Linked DNA regions of Homo sapiens: region 1 is linked to region 2. The links are contacts of gene promoters, found by promoter capture Hi-C in blood cells and fetal thymus (Javierre and others, 2016). All regions are on one chromosome and are shown on one strand. Each heading gives the region's core, a stretch centred on a gene start or on the middle of the fragment in contact. The rest is flanking DNA. Distances are from core to core; before and after follow the strand shown.

Evidence for each region. The method cuts DNA at HindIII sites, captures the fragments that hold promoters and counts their contacts. A CHiCAGO score of 5 or more calls a contact.
Region 1: a contact is called between a fragment that was not itself captured here and the fragment with the promoter of DUSP3 in region 2, in 1 of 17 cell types (endothelial precursors). The highest score is 7.4, in endothelial precursors.

What each region holds. Positions count from the first base shown.
Region 1 is chr17:43,502,990-43,506,635 of GRCh38, forward strand. It overlaps DHX8 (DEAH-box helicase 8), which reads left to right. Exons shown (of 23, transcript NM_004941.3): 12 at 1,655-1,836. Among named protein-coding and RNA genes, the nearest start is that of DHX8, 21 kb to the left of the region's middle. The HindIII fragment of the contact is 6,640 bases long and covers 1-3,646 here.
Region 2 is chr17:43,776,448-43,780,491 of GRCh38, forward strand. It overlaps DUSP3 (dual specificity phosphatase 3), which reads right to left and starts at 2,530. Exons shown (of 3, transcript NM_004090.4): 1 at 2,353-2,530. The coding sequence starts at 2,477. CFAP97D1 (CFAP97 domain containing 1) reads left to right here and starts at 3,988. Exons shown (of 6, transcript NM_001136483.3): 1 at 3,988-4,044. The coding sequence starts at 4,016. RefSeq lists an enhancer at 1,794-2,088 and a silencer at 2,021-2,710. The HindIII fragment of the contact is 2,587 bases long and covers 1,208-3,794 here.

The DNA.
Region 1 (3,646 bases), core at 981-3,480, 270 kb before region 2:
TTGCATATGCTAGAGAGCCACTAAAATTCTGCTCATTTTTTTTTGCTCCTCAAGCCACAATTCCAAGGTGAATCTTGAAAATATAAGCTAGGTCTGGGCAAGGTGGCTCACACCTGTAATCCCAGCACTTTGGGAGGCTGAGGCAGACAGATCACTTGAGTTGGGGAATTTGAAACCAAGCTGGGCAATGTGGTGAAACCCTGTCTCTAAAAAAATACAAAAATTAGTCCAGGCATGGTGGCTCATGCCTGTAATCCCAGCAGTTTGGGAGGCTGAGGCGGGTGGATCACCTGAGGTCAGGAGTTTGAGACCAGCCTAGCCAACATAGTGAAACCCCATCTGTGCTAAAAACAGAAAAATTAACAGATGTGGTGGCACGCACCTGTAATCCCAGCTGCTAGGGAGGCTGAGGCAAGAGAATCACTTGAACCTGGGAGGCGGAGGTTGCAGTGAGCCGAGATCACGCCATTGCACTCCAGCCTGGACAACAATTGCGAAACTCCATCTAAAAAAAAAAAAAAAAAGTTTAGCCGTGTGTAATCACGTGCACCTGTATTCCCAGCTACTCAGGAGGCTAACGTGGGAGGATTGCTTGAGCCCAGGAGGTGGAGGTTGCTGAGCTGAGATCTCGCCACTGCACTCCAGCCTGCTGGGCGTCTGAGCCAGACCCTGTCTCAGAAAAAGAAAAAAATTAATCTGAGAGAAACCAGGCACAACAGACCACATATTGTATGAAGTATCCAGAATAGAACCCGTAGACATAGAAAGTAGACTAATGGTTGCCAAGGGAAAGGAAAAGGGAGGAATGGGGAGTAACTGCTAATGGGTACAGGGTTTCTTTCTGATATGATGAAAATACTCTAAATAGTGGGGATAGTTGCACAACTTAATGAATATACAGTAAAACACTGAGTTAAACACTTAAAAAGAGTAACACGGAGACCTGGCTTGGTGGCTCATACCTGTAATCCCAGCACTTTGGGAGGCCAAGGAGAGAGGATTCCTTGAACCCAGGAATTTGAGGCTGCAGTGAGCCGTGATTGCGTCACTGCACTCCAGCCTGGGAAACAGAGCAAGACCCTGTCTCAAAAAAATAAAATAAAATAAAAAAAGTGTAACATGGTTTGTGAATTACATCTCGATATAGCAGTTATTTAAAAAGGGGAGAGTGCTGCGCATGGTGGCCATACCTGTAATTCCATTACTTTGGGAGGGTGAGATGGGTGGATTGCTTTAGCCCAGGAGTTCGAGACCAGCCTGGCAACATAGAGTGACCTCTTCTCGCTTGAGCCCAGAAGGTCGGGGCTGCAGTGAGTCAGGATTGCACCACTGCACTCCCACTTGGATGACAGAGCAAGACCCTACCTAAAAAAAAATAATTCCAGTGTCAAGCAGTCAGGTCTTCACTTCTCTCAACTAACCTTTTTTCTGACATCACAGGTGTGTAGCACCACTTGTTACAGTCTCTTTCCCATTCCCTGCTGCCCCTTCTATATTCTTTTCTTCACATTAATTTGTTTCTTTGAGTACTTTTGATCACGGGTCGCTGAATTGAGATGCTGCATGTGCAGTGCCCGCATGCCATTTTATTTTTTTCCTGGTACATCTTGAGGTAGCTTGAGGACAATACTAAGTTGCCTGTTTTCCTTTCCAGCGGAAGGCAGACAGATTGCTGCCAACATGAGGGGTATTGGGATGATGCCCAATGATATTCCTGAGTGGAAGAAGCATGCCTTTGGGGGCAACAAAGCCTCTTACGGAAAAAAGACCCAGATGTCAATCCTTGAGCAGAGGGAGAGCCTGCCCATCTACAAACTGAAGGAGCAATTGGTCCAGGTGAGAAGACTTTTATGATGTATTGGTGGGGAGTAGGGTTATTGTCTAAAAGAGGGGTGATATTTTTAAACTGAAACTAACGGGACAAGTATGTGCCTACTTGAAGTGGCTCATCCAAAAGAGTTAAGAAAGAAGGATAAAACTTTCTAAATACTTTTTTTTTAAATGGGGCTGGGCGCGGTAGTGGATGCCTATAATCCCAGCACATCAGAGGCCAAGGCAGGAGGATCACTTGAGCCTAGGAGTTTGAAACCAGCCTGAGGCAACATAGGGAATCTTGTCTCTACAAAAAATAAAAAATTTGGTGGGGCGTGGTGGCCCACACCTGTAATCCGGCACTTTGGGAGGCAAAGGTGGGCGGATCACAAGTTCAGGAGTTCGAGACCATCCTGGCCAACACGGTGAAACCTTGTCTCTACTAAAAATACAAAAAATTAGCTGGGCGTGGTGGCGCATGCCTATAATCCCAGCTACTCTGGAGTCTGAGGCAGGAGAATCGCTTGAATCAGGGAGTCGGAGGTTGCAGTGAGTCAAGATCACGCCGCTGCACTCCAGCCTGGCTACAGAGAGAGACTCTGTCTAAAAAAAAAAAAATTACCTGGGTGTGGTGGTCCATGCCTGTAATCCCAGCTACTCGGGAGGCTGAGATAAGAGGATTGCTTGAGCCTGAGAGGTCGCGGCTACAGTGAACTGCAATCACACCACTGCACTCCAGCCTGGGCGACCAAGTGAGACCCCATATCACAAATGTTTGTGTGTGCGTGTACAGACACACATACTTATGTATGTGTCTGTATATCTTCTTTTTCCTGGGGCCCCTAGAACAGTTTCCAAGTGGGCAGAGTATTGTGTTGCATGGACCAACAGCTCTGTTCAGTAATTAAAAATGAGGATACTCAGTCAATAAACTCATATGGGCAACTCATAGAGTGCTTCGGTACTCTATATTCTGGAGTTCTGATTTTAAGACCACCGAGTCTTCCTTGAGGTAATCAGGTTTACTAGTTTCTAGTGAATCCTTTCAACAATATCTTATATGTATACAAGCAAGTACAAATATATGCACACACACGCACACACATTTTATATGAGTACTGTGTGTGTTTACAGGTGGCAGTGATATTATATACACTGTTCTACATCTTTTTCCACTTAATGATATATCTCAGAGATTTGTGTGTGTGTGTGTGTATGTGTGTGTGACAGAGTCTCGCTTTGTGCAGGCTGGAGTACAGTGGCTTGATCTCAGCTCACTGCAACCTCTACCTCCTGGGCTCAAGTGATCTTCCCACCTCAGACTCCCAAGTAGATGGGACTACAAGGCATACACCATCATGCTCAGCTAGTTTTTTGTATTTTTTGTAGAGATGCGGTCTCACTATATTGTCCAGGCTGGTCTTGAACTCCTGGACTCAAGCAATCCTCCCTCCTTGGCCTCCCAAAGTGCTAGGATTACAGGCATGAGCCACTGTGCCTGGCCTTCTTAAACAAACAAACAAAAAAAATTGCCAGGCCAGGCACAGTGGCTCACACCTGTAATCCCAATACTTTGGGAGGCCAAGGCGGGCGGATCACCTGAGGTCAGGAGTTCGAGACCAGCCTGGCCAACATGGTGAAACCCTGTCTCTACTAAAAGTACAAAAATTAGCCGGGCGTGCTGGCGGGCACTTGCAGTCCCAGCTACTTGGGAGGCTGAGGCAGGAGAATCACTTGAATCCGGAAGGTGGAGGTTGCAATGAGCTGAGATCATGCCACTGCACTCCAGCATGGGCGACAGAGTGAGACTTCATCTCAAAAAAAAAAAAAAAGC
Region 2 (4,044 bases), core at 1,280-3,779:
ATGCCCACATCTGCTGCAAAACCCCCAAGGCCTGGCACATGTGGCTCACACAGGCTCTGGCTCTGCCTTGTGAGGACGTGGCTGCGGCCCTGATTTTGTTAAGGGAATGGAGCCCAAATCCTCTTGGTGCTTGGTGCTCACTGATCCTCCCTGTTGAGGAACCCCCACACCCCTGGCCAAGTCAAGGTCAGAGGTGCTTAGAGGGCAAGGGATGTATTTTCTACAGTGGCCATCAGCAATTGCCACTCTGGCTACACCAGACGTGTACAACCTTGGTTTCCACTTGGGAAGTGATGACAGCTGAATGGCCAACCTGCCCAAGCAAGCGGGATTCCTGAGGCTAACAAGGCCTGCTTGCTGCTTGGTGCAAGAGGAAGGGTGTCTCTAGAGCTTTCCAATTCCTGAAGCCTTTGGCTGACACTGTGGGACTCTGTTTATTCCTGCTTAGGACACCGCGCAAGACTGTGAAGCAGTGGCTGATAGAAAAAAACACTTTGAAGAGTCACTCCCATTCATCTCCCTTCTCTAATACTTTTTTTTTTTGAGATGGAGTTTCGCTCTTGTTGCCCAGTTGGAGTGCAACGGTACGATCTTGGCTCACTGTAACCTCCACCTCCCGTGTTCAAACGATTCTCCTGCCTCAGCCTCCGGAGTAGCTGGGATCACAGGCGCCAGGCACCATGCCCAGCTAATTTTTGTATTTTTAGTAGAGACAGGGTTTCACCATGTTGGTCAGGCTGGTCTCGAACTGCTGACCTCAGGTGACCCACCCGCCTCGGCCTCCCAAAGTGCTGGGATTACAGGCGTGAGCCATCGTGCCAGGCCTCTAATACTATTAATAATTCAACATTCAAAAAATTTACAATTATCATTATTACTATCTCTACTATGAATGAACATTGTACAGTGCCTGACATAAAGCAGGTGCTCAGACTGGTGAATGAATGATGGAATGGATGAGAACTGTCCCCATGAGGCTGGGGCCTGATGGACCCCTTCTAGTTCCATGATGACCCCCATTTCCGTGGCAGTCCTTGGCAGGCTAAACAGCAGGTCATAGCGGAGGTCAGGAAATACATACATGAACAAGACATTGACCCTGTCCTTGTAGTCCCTCACACACTCTGAGCCACCATTTCCTCCTCTGTAAAATGGGAGGAGGGTTAGTTTTGAGTTTTCAACATGCCATCCTTGGGCTGAGCCATGAAGCTTAGGATTTTGGTAACTGGGTCCTCAGAGTATCGTGAAAATCCAACTTGAGGCTTTCCAAGGCTGTACAGGCATGCTAATATATTCTTTCTTGAGGCTCCTATTTCACATCTCAGAATGTTAACACTGGTTCTTTCCTGCTGATTAGACATTCTTACTAGAAAAAAAATTTAAAATTTAAATTAAAAAAAATCTCTTACTGTCCGGGTGCGGTGGCTCACGCCTGTAATCCCAGCACTTTTGGAGGCCGAGGTGGGCGGATCATGAGGTCAGGAGTTTGAGACCAGCCTGGCCAAGAGACCAGCCTGGCCAATATGGTGAAACCCCGTCTCTACTAAAAATACAAAAAGTAGCCAGGCGTGGTGGCGGGCGCCTGTAATCCCAGCTACTCGGGAGGCTGAGGCAGGAGAATTGCTTGAACCCAGGAGGCAGAGGTTGCAGTGAGCCGAGATCTCGCCATTGCACTCCAGCCTGGGTGACAGAGCCTGGGGGTGAAAGGTCAAGAGCCTTTTCTAGGTGGTGGCTCAGGTCCTTAGGGGGGTTATCACTGGACCGTTCTAGAATCTCCTGTAAATCAAATCACATCTGGAAGGTGGGGGCCTGGAAATCCCGGCCCAGCTCCCCGGACTCGCTCATTTGGGGTGTTTAGGTTCCCTGATCCGGGACTGCCGGGCCGGGAAAATTCCATGCCCGAATTGTGACGTCGGCCCGTTGCCATGGCGGCGAAGGCAGACATTCCGCGGTGACCTCACTGCAGAACCAGGCAGCTGTCACATGACGCGCGGGCAGGAGACCGGCCGGGCGACCGAGGGTCACCTGTTAAGTGAACATGGTAGCCCCGACCCCGCCCAAGGCCAAGCCCCAAGCGGGTGGCGGCTGGGACCCGGGCAGGCGCCACCCGGGCTCCGTGCACCCCGCCACGGGGAAGGGCCGCGCCCGGCCAGGCAGGGTTCCAGTTCCTTGGCCCCACGCGCGGGGGTAGGCGTCGACTCCAGGCCCCTCCCAAGCCCCCGCTGTGGCTCCCGGAGGGGCCATCGCGCCCGGGCTCCCCCAACCCAAGACTCGCGACACCCCGACCCCAGCCTCGGGTGGGCGGGGCGTCCCGAGAGGGACGGCGGGGCCGGGCTCGCGAAAGGGACTCACGCGTTGCCCACGTAGATCCGCGGGGTGACCTCGTTGCAGGGCTGGCTCGGGAGGCTGTAGCAGCCGCTGCCGTCCGAGAGCAGGTCGTTGAGATCCTGCACCGAGAGCTCGAACGAGCCCGACATGGCGGCGGCGGGGCCCTGCACGCCCGGCAGGAGCAAGCGAGGCGGAGAGCGGCGGATCAGCTGGGCGGGGGCTCGCGCCGGGAGCCGCCCCGTCCCGCCCCTGGGGCGGGCCCGCCGGGCTCCGGGAGCTGCGGAGCGCGGGCGCCGTGACGCGGGGGCCCCGCGCGCCACTCCTGGGCGCGTCCCGGGGGGAAGACGCCACCGCCCTGGAGTCTCAGGGGTCCTCGCCCCATCCCGGTCCAGGCCGTTTGTGTATCTTTGTAAACTGGCAAGCGCGGTAACTTCCTTCCCTGAATTAAATGCAGGGCCCAATAAACATTTCGTGGCGGAGGTACACCTAGGGGTCGCTTCAGTCTTTCATGATTACAGGGACCGCCGGGTTCGGCTCGTGAGCGGCTCCCTGCAGTGGAGGCACCACCCGGGCGCTTGACAGAATCCCCGCCCCAGCCCAGCCCTGCTGGATCAGAGTGGACATTTTACGGACCCCAGGAGGTCCCTACGGTCAAAGTCTGAGAAGCCCTACTCTGGGGCGCATCTGCTTTCAACATTCATTGAGAGTCATCGTCGTGCTTAAAAGCAGTCAGGTTTGGAATTCTGAGGAATTACTTAACCTGAGCCTGTTTGCAGGGAAAAAAAAAAAAAGCGGGATAGTAATGGTACCTAATTCTAGGGTTGCTGGAAGGGTTAAATGTGACATTCAAAGAAGGCACCCAGCACTGCATGGCGAGCACTCAATAGGTGTTAGTCCTTCATCAACAAATGCGTTGAGCACCCAGTGGGTGCTATACCCTGTGCTGGGGTGGAGATAAATCAGACTCCTGCAGCCCTTCCTGGAGCAGATGCCAGCCCACCATAAGCCACTCAGCATTTCCTGAACTCCCACTAAGTACAAAAGATAGTCTCTGTACTGGAGGAAAGCTGCCCTCCCCTACTGCCATGAAAAACTGGCAGTTTCCTTCCTGCAAAAGGGCAAATTTGGCCTTGAATTCAGGAACCCCACATCCTGAGCCCAGCCCTGCCACCAACTTGGTTCTTGAGTAACGTTGCTGCTGCTGTGGTCTTCAGTTTCCTCATTTGCAAAAGGAATTGGATCCGATTATCATTAGGGTCAACTTTCTCCTCCTCCAAAACTTGTGGTCTTGCACCTTCAGGGGAGCTATTGCAGTGGAGACTACTTAGCTGATAGCCCAAGATGTGTAACCAAGGCTGGAATTTCTGTATCCCTCACCCCACCCCGTGCCTGCCCACCCCTCCCGGTGCACCACTTCTTTCCTTCTGGTGTTGGCTGGCAGCATCTGCATTCTAAGCAGCGGGGAAAGCTTTCGAGTTCCTTGACCTTCATCTTGACTTGAGCCGAGGTTAGCATTAAAAACACAAGCCCAGAGGCAGCCAGCCATGCTCTGCTGCTCCTACTCCCTTCCCGGGACCTGTCCCTGATGTCATAACTGGGTAACTATGACAGCTTGTCATGGGGACAGCTAGGCACCTCACAGAGGAGTCTGGGTACCTCATTTCTGAAGTGAGACTAGGAAGAGAAGATGAACAATTCCCTGGATTATCTGGCCTA